Linked DNA regions of Homo sapiens: all the other regions are linked to region 1. The links are contacts of gene promoters, found by promoter capture Hi-C in blood cells and fetal thymus (Javierre and others, 2016). All regions are on one chromosome and are shown on one strand. Each heading gives the region's core, a stretch centred on a gene start or on the middle of the fragment in contact. The rest is flanking DNA. Distances are from core to core; before and after follow the strand shown. Region 1 has its middle 33 kb from the start of SFPQ. Region 2 holds the start of CLSPN-AS1 (CLSPN antisense RNA 1). Region 3 holds the start of C1orf216 (chromosome 1 open reading frame 216).

The links. Contacts are between HindIII fragments. The CHiCAGO score rates a contact against its expected background, and 5 or more counts as called.
Region 2: the fragment with the promoter of CLSPN-AS1 here is called in contact with a fragment that was not itself captured in region 1 in 1 of 17 cell types (M2 macrophages); the score reaches 5.0 in M2 macrophages.
Region 3: the fragment with the promoter of C1orf216 here is called in contact with a fragment that was not itself captured in region 1 in 2 of 17 cell types (M1 macrophages and M0 macrophages); the score reaches 5.5 in M1 macrophages.

The regions. Positions count from the first base shown.
Region 1 is chr1:35,158,798-35,161,847 of GRCh38, forward strand. No RefSeq gene overlaps it. Among named protein-coding and RNA genes, the nearest start is that of SFPQ, 33 kb to the right of the region's middle. The HindIII fragment of the contact is 4,233 bases long and covers 1-3,050 here.
Region 2 is chr1:35,737,992-35,741,041 of GRCh38, forward strand. It overlaps CLSPN-AS1 (CLSPN antisense RNA 1), which reads left to right and starts at 1,454. Exons shown (of 2, transcript NR_199043.1): 1 at 1,454-1,522. CLSPN (claspin) reads right to left here. Exons shown (of 25, transcript NM_022111.4): 19 at 1,374-1,538; 20 at 1,145-1,266; 21 at 464-591; 22 at 1-106. RefSeq lists enhancers at 303-804, 548-1,747. The HindIII fragment of the contact is 7,776 bases long and covers 1-3,050 here.
Region 3 is chr1:35,717,271-35,720,320 of GRCh38, forward strand. C1orf216 (chromosome 1 open reading frame 216) reads right to left here and starts at 1,614. Exons shown (of 2, transcript NM_152374.2): 1 at 1,437-1,614. It also overlaps a transcript of CLSPN not described here. RefSeq lists a silencer at 1,346-1,775. The HindIII fragment of the contact is 2,001 bases long and covers 732-2,732 here.

The sequences.
Region 1 (3,050 bases), core at 308-2,807:
GCGAGACTAGCCTGGGCAACGTGGTGAAATGCTGTCCCTACTAAAGAAACAAAAATTAGCCGGGTGTGGTGGTGGGCTCCTGTAATCCCAGCTACTCGGGAGGCTGAGACAGGAGAATCGTTTGAACCCGGGAGGCAGAGATTGCAGCGAGCTGAGATTGCACCACTGCACTCCAGCCTGGGTGACAGAGGGAGACTCCATCTCAAAAAAAAAAAAAAAAAAACAAGGAAAAGAAAAAGAAAAGAAATAAAGAAACAAACTACTGATAGGCATGGTGGTTCACACCTATAATCCTAGAACTTTGGGAGGCTGAGGCAGGAAGATTGCTTGAGCTCAGGAGTTCCAGACCAGCCTGGGCAACATAGGAAGACCTCATCTCTGCTAAAAAAAAAAAAAAAAATTTTTTTTTTTTTTGAGACACACTCGTTGCCCAGGCTGGAGTGCAGTGATGTGATTTCAGCTCACTGCAACCTCTGCCTCCTGGGTTCAAGCAATTCGCCTGCTTCAGCCTCCCAAGTAGCTGGGACTACAGGCACGCACCACCATTCCTGGCTAATTTTTTTTTTTTTTTTGTATTTTTAGTAGAGACAGAGTTTCACTATGTTGGCCAGGATGGTCTCGAACTCCTGGCCTTGTGATTGGCCCTGCCTTGGCCTCCCACAGGCTGGGATTACAGGGGTGAACCACCACACCTGGCCTGCAAAATTTTTTTTTAAATTTGCCAGATATGGTAGTGAGCACCTGCGGTCCCAGCTACTTGGGAGGCTGAGGTGGGAGGATCACCTGAGCCTGGGAGGTCGAGGCTGCAGTGAGCTGTGATCATGCCACTGCACTCCAGCCTGGGTAATAGAGTGAGACTGTCTCAGAAAAGAACCCAACAAACTATTGATACACCTAACAATGTGTATGACTCTCAAAATAATGCTGAGTGAAAGAAGCCAAATAAAAAAAAGAGGCCGGGTGCAGCGGCTCATGCTTGTAATCCCAGCACTTTGGGAGGCCAAGGTGGGTGGATCATGAGGTCAGGAGTTCAAGATCAGCCTGGCCAAGATGGTGAAATCCCATCTCTATTAAAAATACAAAAATTAGCTGGGCGTGGTGGCTGGTGTCTGTAATCCCAGCTACTCTGGAGGCTGAGGCAGAGAATTGCTTGAACCCGGGAGGCAGAGGTTGCAGTGAGCTGAGATCGCGCCATTGCATTCCAGCCTGGGCAACAGAGGGAGACTCCATCACACACACACACACACATACACACACACAAAACACATGTCAAAGATTCTATTCATATAAAATTCTGGAAAATGGAAACTAACCTATAGTGGTAAGTAAGCAGATCAGTGGTTGCCTGTAGATTGGTAGAGGCAAAGGAGGGATGTATAGGTACAGGAGTCAAGGATTACTAAGGGACACAAGGAAACTTTTGGGGGTGGCAGCCATTTTATCTTGATTGTAATGTGAAAGTTGTTAGAATTGAGATTTAACACTAGGAGTCACTAGTGTTTAAAAAAAAAAATAGAGCCAGGGAAGGCTTGTATGTCTCATAACAGAAGCTATCACAAAAGACCCTTGAAAAAACACAACCTTGCAAAAAAGCCATCACAAACTTACACAAAAAATTCATCTGCAAAGACATCTACCAAGCAACTGCCTGTCCAACCTCAGCCAGGCAACACCCTTGTTAAGGATTTTTATAGCCAAGGATATCATTTCAAAACAATGATGTAATCCTCTTCATTTTTTCCTTTGAAAACCTTTCTCCTCTGTCTTTTTCCTTTTTCTTTTTTTTTTTTTTTTTTTTGAGACAGAGTCTTGCTCTGTCACCCAGGCTGGAGTGCAGTGGTGTGATCTCAGCTCACTGCAACCTCTGCCTCCTGGGTTTGATTCTCCCGCCTCAGTCTCCCCGGTAGCTGGGATTACAGACATGCACCACCATCCCCGGCTAATTTTTGTATTTTTAGTAGAGACAGGTTTTCGCCATGTTGACCAGGCTCGTCTCGAACTCCTGGCCTCATGTAATCCACCCACTTCAGTCTCCCAAAGTGCTGGGATTGCAGGCATGAACCACCGCATCCAGCCAAAACCTTTGTCTTTCTTTACCTATTCAATACATATACATAGTTTACTGTGGCACACATATTCCCATTGCAATGCGTAACTCCTGAATAAATCTCTTTTTCTTTTAGAGAGCCTCTTTCTCTTTATTATTTAGATTGACAGTGGTAATGATCTTATTGGTGTATACATATGTCAAACTTTATCAAGTTTGTACTTCAAATATGTGCAGTTTATTGTATATCAATTACTTCATTTAAGCTGTTTTTTAAAATGTTCATTACGTTTTCCTGTGTAAAATGGAAATTCGTGTGACTATTTATAACTTTTTCCAACTTGTTCTGTCTCTGTTAAAACAAATCTGTTGTATTCAGCTTCCAGCTCAGACAGAAAACTGGTACCAGATTTCCCTTAGTGCTGTAAACAACTAGAAAACTGCATGAAGTATACAAAACAACTGCTGTTCATACATGGTATATGTGTTTGCTAGAGCTGCCATAACAAAATACCAGACTAGTGGCTTAAAAAACAGAAATAGGGGCCAGGCGCGGTGGCTCACACCTGTAATCCCAGCACTTTGGGAGGCTGAGGCGGGTGGATCACAAGGTCAGGAGATCGAGGCCATCCTGGCTAACATGGTAAAACCCCGTCTCTACTAAAAATACAAAAAATTAGGCGGGCGTGGTGATGGGCGCCTGTAGTCCCACCTACTCAGGAGGCTGAGGCAGGAGAATGGCATGAACCTGGGAGGCGGAGCTTGCAGTGAGCCGAGATCATGCCACTGCACCCCAGCCTGGGCAACAGAGCGAGACTCCGTCTCAAAACAAAACAAAACACAACAAAAAAAAACAGAAATAGGCCGGGTGCAGTGGCTCACGCCTGTAATCCCAGCACTTTGGGAGGCCGAGGAGGAGTCAGATCACTTGAGGTCAGGAGTTCGAGACCAGCCTGGCCAACATGGTGAAACCCTGTCTCTACTAAAAATACAAAAATTAGCT
Region 2 (3,050 bases), core at 204-2,703, 580 kb after region 1:
CATTCTTCTGCAGTGCTTTGGCTGTAACTTTCTTGGCCAGTATCATAAACTGACTGTCCTCCCCAATTTCTTCTTCTTCTTCAGCTGTAATTTTCCCCTGCTGTGCCTGAAAAAAAAAAAAAATATATATATATATATATATATATATACAGCATTAAAAGTCTATAACCTTCCTAAATAGTTAGCATGGCCTGGATTGTGAAACTAGAGTTCCTGGGGTATTTGTTTTCCTTTTTGCAGCCTTTGCTGCTTTAGACAAAAAAAAATTAATCTTAGACAAACATGAAGAGAACTGTCTATGGTATAGCCTTCTCAAAACACAAAAGATAGCTCAAGGATTAAAAGAGATAGCAATATGTTGCCTAAGATTTTGAAACTATCATGACAAGCTAAGATTTTGAAACTATCATGACAAGCTAAGGGACAGTCTCATAAACTAGGGTCAGAGTAGGTGAACTCCTACCATGTCCCGAAGCCACTGCTCTCGTTCAATTCGCTCCTTCCTCCACCTGGCTTCTGACTCATCAAGCTGTTCTTCAGTCTGATCATCATCAGAGTCTCTGTGGAACAAGTCCATCTGGGAAGCATCATCTAAACAAAGAGTGAAGGTAATCAGCATTCGGCAGTCCTCACAGGAGAGGGTGCTTGGACAGACAAAAAATAAACCCTTATCATTTACTATATAATGATGTAAACTTTTCCCATCCATTAACAGAAAACAGTTACAACTAGGTCTTCACATAGCCTGTTATAGTTTTGCTTGCCATTTGCCATCTGAAACTCGACAAATATGCATTGTAACTGTTTGCTTTTTTTTTTTTTTTTTTGAGATGGAGTCTCGCTCTGTCGCCCAGGCTGGAGTGCAATGGCATGATCTCTGCTCACTGCAACCTCCGTCTCCCGGGTTCACGCAATTCTCCTGCCTCAGCCTCCTGAGTAGCTGGGATTACAGGCGCGTGCCATCACAGCCTGCTAATTTTTGAACTTTTAGTAGGGACGGGGTTTCACCATGTTGTTCAGGCTGGTCCTGAACTCCTGACCTTGTGATCCACCTGCCTCTGCCTCCCAAAGTGTTGGGATTACAGGCGTGAGCCACCATGCTCAGCCCGTAACTGATTGCTTTTAAAGACAACAACCAAGATACCTATGTTTTTCCATCGAAACTTCCTCATTCGCCCAGGACCATCGCTGTGCAGATCCCCATCAGCAAGGTACCTCTCTTGGTATAAACGTAGCTGTCGCTTATCATCATCCAACATAGTTTTCCTGCAACAGGAGAAATAAGGTGTTCAAAACAAGGACCATTCTGGCTGGTTACAGGGCTTGTCTTAAGATGTACCCTATTACTCAGAAGGGCTTATTGGGATACTGACATGTGTATTTTCTTGATTTGACTCTGCAGTTCCTCATCAGAAGGAAGTACTTCATCAATTACGTCCTCTTCATATTCATCAATTTCTTCCCCATCATACTCATCTTCGCTTCCCACATCACTTCCTGACACCTCTGCCTCATCCTCCAGGTATTTCCTCAACCTCCTAGAAAGCAATTTTGAGGATTAGAAAATGCAACAATGAATATACTCACAGAATATGGAAGCAAAGAAAAGCAGAACAGAGTCACTTCTAATAATAATAAACATAATACATTTGATAATATTTAAATTTTTTTGTAATAGTCTCCACTTATGATGGTTTGACTTAATGATTTTTCAACTTTACGATGACATGAATGTGATACGCACTTAGTATGCTTCTCGATTTACGATGGAGTTATATCTGGATAATATGAAAGTGCATTTTCAACTTATGATGGATTGATCAGGATATAGTCCCATTGTAAGATGTGGAGCATCTGTATTTAAAAGTTGATCACTTAATATGTCTTGTGTGCTAATAACTGTGCTTTACAGGCATTAACATATTATCATAGGAATGGGTACTATTATTCTCTTCATTTTACAGTTGAGGGAATTGAGCCTCAGAAAGATTACATTTACCCAAGGTCACATAGCTAGAAGGTAGCAGAGCCTGGATTCAACTTAGATTGGGTGATTTGAAAGCCAGAAAACTCTTAATCTCTTTTACATGTATTAGAATACCTGCTGGAAGGTTCAAACTATTTCATTTTGCATTTGAGCACACCAGCTTTAAGAGACAAACTAGAGATGGTGTGGTGTAGAAAGGTAATAAACTGGGATCTTCTTACAGCCTAACAAATCTTGACCCCCACATCAGAAGGAAGACTAAGGCTCAGAGCTCCTGGTAATCAAAACGACTAGTTACTTCTTATGACTTCAGCTCCCCCGGAGAATAAATCTGGTGTCACCCTGGATTCAAAGTCACCTTGGTCCCATGTGGTCCAAAATGGCAGAAGTTTGGTGGCTTTCTGAAAACTGATTTTTATCGAAGACCTATACTGTATTTTCTCTTTTTTTTTTTTTTTGAGATGAAGTGTCGCTCTGTCGCCTAGGCTGGAGTGCAGAGATGCCATCTCGGCTCACTGCAACCTCCACCTCCTGGGTTCAAGTGATTCTCATGCCTCAACCTCCCGAGTAGCTGGGATTACAGGTGCGTGCCACCATGCCTGGCTAATTTTTGTTTTTTTAGTAGAGATAGGGTTTCACCATGTTGGCCAGGGTGGTCTTGAACTCCTGACCTCAGGGGATCTGTCCATCTCAGCCTCCCAAAGTGCTGGGATTACAGGCATGAGCCACCACGCCCAGCCTATACTGTATTTTCTTAAAGCTAAGTTGTTCTAAATCCTAGAGTTCCTGGAAAATTCCTTCAGAGGCCACTAGTCACTAAGTTTCCCAAACTTCCCACTTACCATCTTTGAACAGTTCAACTTTTATCTGTCATTCTTTAAAAGATTTTATTTGAACAAAGAGCTCTGCAGAGAAGAACCACTACCTTAGAAAAATCTATGGATAACCTAAAGCTGTATGAGAGTTAATTTGATAGGTGATAAATTAGAACCCAAAGTGAATCTTAATAGAATGAAATGATGGGATAAAAGCAACCATATAAATCTAATAGGGATCAATATGA
Region 3 (3,050 bases), core at 364-2,863, 560 kb after region 1:
GAATTCCTGCTAAACCTCTACCTGGCCTACAACACCCTGTTTGATCTGGCCCCTGCTCACCCCTCCATACCTGCCTCTTGCCACTCTGCCCCTCCCATCATAGCAAACTGCCCAGAGATCTCAAAACACACCATTGTTTTTCTTACAGTATTCCTTTGGCCTACAATATCCTTCCTCTCCCCTCCCCTCAAAGCTCCTCCCTTCTCCACCCAGCAAATTCCTTTTTGTACTTCAAAATTAGCTGTAATATCCCCATGTTTCCATGTCCCCATGTCTCTGAAGCCGTCTTGATACTGCCCCAATCAATATTACATAAACAAGCACGGTTAGTTATGCCTTCCTCTGGGTCCCCACTGCGCTGGGTATACACTGTCTTATCCAACTTTGCATCCGTCCCTGGCATACATGGTCGACGATCAGTGAATGTCTATTCAACTGGCATTTTTGGTTTGTGGTAATGATCTTGTAATAGCAGTTTGTAATCTGGCTTGGACCTCCTGTATATATCCTCCATCATATTCCCCAGAGTCAGCCAGCATAGAGCCCTGAACCAGGCTGTCTGTGCATACAGGTACTTGCTAAGTGAGTGAATGGGAGAAGAGACTGCAGTGAATTTCCATGCTCAGGAATCCACTCTTGACTCCCCAGGGCTGGAAGAGCTGGGTTCTGGAAGAGCTGGGTTTGGTTCCCTTTCCTACCCCAGCCAGGGAGCCCCGCCTTCCCCAGTGACAAGCTTTTCTTCTGAGCCTGCCCCCTTCCCTCCCAATGCCTCTGGAACACAGCCACTATCTTGCGGTCCCCGTCCCTAGCTTGCTCCATTCTGAGGCCCTGGAGGGAGGGCATACCACACCACTCTTCTCTCCTCCATAACCTGCTTCTAACCAAAATTAGGATTTGAACTGACAAAGGGATTCTACTGACCAAACAGCACTGGGATTAGAACAATTGAAGAGCATGAAGAGGAAGGGTATTGTAAGTGGAGCCGGCACTGGAAGGCGCTCCATAGGTGGCATGGACCCTCCCCACCCCCAGCAATGGGCAGAGAAGTCCTGGGGAGAAGGGTGTAGGAACAGTTCGTTTCTAATCGCCCTCTAAGCAAGGCTTGTGGGAAGGTGCCTAGAGATCTCCCCTCGCCCCAATTTTTTATTTTTCCTATACTTGGATGGGGCCGTGAAGGAAGCTGGGATGGGGTGGGGGTGGCGCTAGGGATCACAGGGTTCTCAGAGATAGTAAAATGAGAACCCCGACACGCCAGGACTAGGTCTCCGCCCAAACAGGAGGCAGCCTCCTTTTCTGGCCTTGCGGGAGTGGGAGACCACCCCAGGAGACAGAGACCATCCTTCCCTAGTCTCCTCGAAGGAGGCCACTGTGACTCCCCGCTTCCCGCGGCTGAGCCCCAAGCCCCACCCCGCCTCGGGCCCCAGACTCGGACTCACGGCGTAGAGGCGCCCGCTCCGGCGCGTCTGGCTCTGGCTCCGCCCGGCCCTGGTGGTGTCTAGTCCCTGGGCTGGGGGTTCCTCGGCCTGGGCGTCTCCGCGGTCCAGGCGTGGGTGCGGGGCTCCCGGGCAGCGCGCCCAGCCCCAGTCCCGGACTGCGGAGTCAGGCGGCGTCTGCGCAGCAGGGCGGAGCGACCGGTCCCACGTGGGCCGGTTCGGTTTTCCGCGGAGCCCCGCGCCAGGCCCCTGCGCCGGAACCGCTTCGCCCCCGCGCGGGGCCGCGTTGACCCAGGCCTTCCAGGTCCGGTGCTCTCTCCTATTGGCATTCGCTGGGCCCTTCCCATCAGTTAGCCTCGCTGCAGACACCGTGCCATTTTCAAGTGAAATCTGATTAGTCACCACCTTCCGGCGTTAAACTCCTCAATGGCTTCCCCACCGCCGGGACAACCCCTAAGGCGGTAGCCGCGGGGCTCTGTGCGTCCTGCCCTTCGTCTGCCTCTCCGGCTTCGTCCTCTACCCTCCCTCTCCGCAGTTACCCTCCCACACGCCCCTTTCCGCCACGCGGCTTTGGCACGCACTGTTCCCTCGGTCTAGCATTCTCTTCCCCCTCTCGACTTACTCCTATTTCAGATCTCTTCTCGGAGAGATCTCTGACTCCCTAGATCACGTTCGTTCCCCCCTTTATGTCAGAGCACATTCCTTTTCTTCATAGCATTTATCACAATTTGGAATTATATATTCCTTTTTGTGCTTACTTGACTAAAGTCACTGAGGCCGGGTGCGGTGGCTCACGCCTGTAACCCCAGCACTTTGGGAGGCCGAGGCGGGCAGATAACCTGAGGTCAGGAGTTTGAGACCAGCCTGGCCAACATGGTGAAACCCCATCTCTACTAAAAATACAAAAATTAGCCGGGCTTGGTGGCGGGCGCCTGTAATCCCAGCTACTTGGGAGGCTGAGGCAGGAGAATCGCTTGAACCTGGGAGGTGGAGGTTGCAGTGAGCCAAGACTGCACCACTGCACTCCAGTCTGGGCAACAGAGTGGGACTCCGTCTCAAAAAAAAAAAAAAAAAAAAAAAAAAAAAGAGAGAGAGAGAAAGAAGATCCAAGCCTGGGACAGGGCTCAGGGCTGATGTCCTGTACCCGGGACGGGGGCTCTCCGCAGGACACAGAGCCCACCCATGATGCCTGTGAAGTGGGTACCAGTGCTTTTGCCCAGGTGAGGAGGAACAGCGTGATAAAAAAGGGTCTTGGGTTCCAAACTCCAGTGGATTCTTCTCAGAGCTCCACTCTACTGAAGCTTGACCCCCCTCACTCTTTTGCACCCTGGGGAAATGTGAAGTTGGGGGCCCTGTTTGGAATAAAAGAGAACAGAGTTCAGTAATTGCTGACCCTAATATATGAGGTGCCCTCTTCCAGTTTCAATTTGATTCCAAGTCACCATTCTGCAACCTAGAGACTAATTGGCAAATTAAATCACACCAAGAAATCCTATATGCAAAAACAGGGAAAATGGAAAAGAAATTTTTATGATTATGATGACTATTTTAAAAGGGAAAAGGAAATAAGAAGGAGAAGGCAGAAGTAATTCAAACTTTGCACACTCCTCCAGCTAA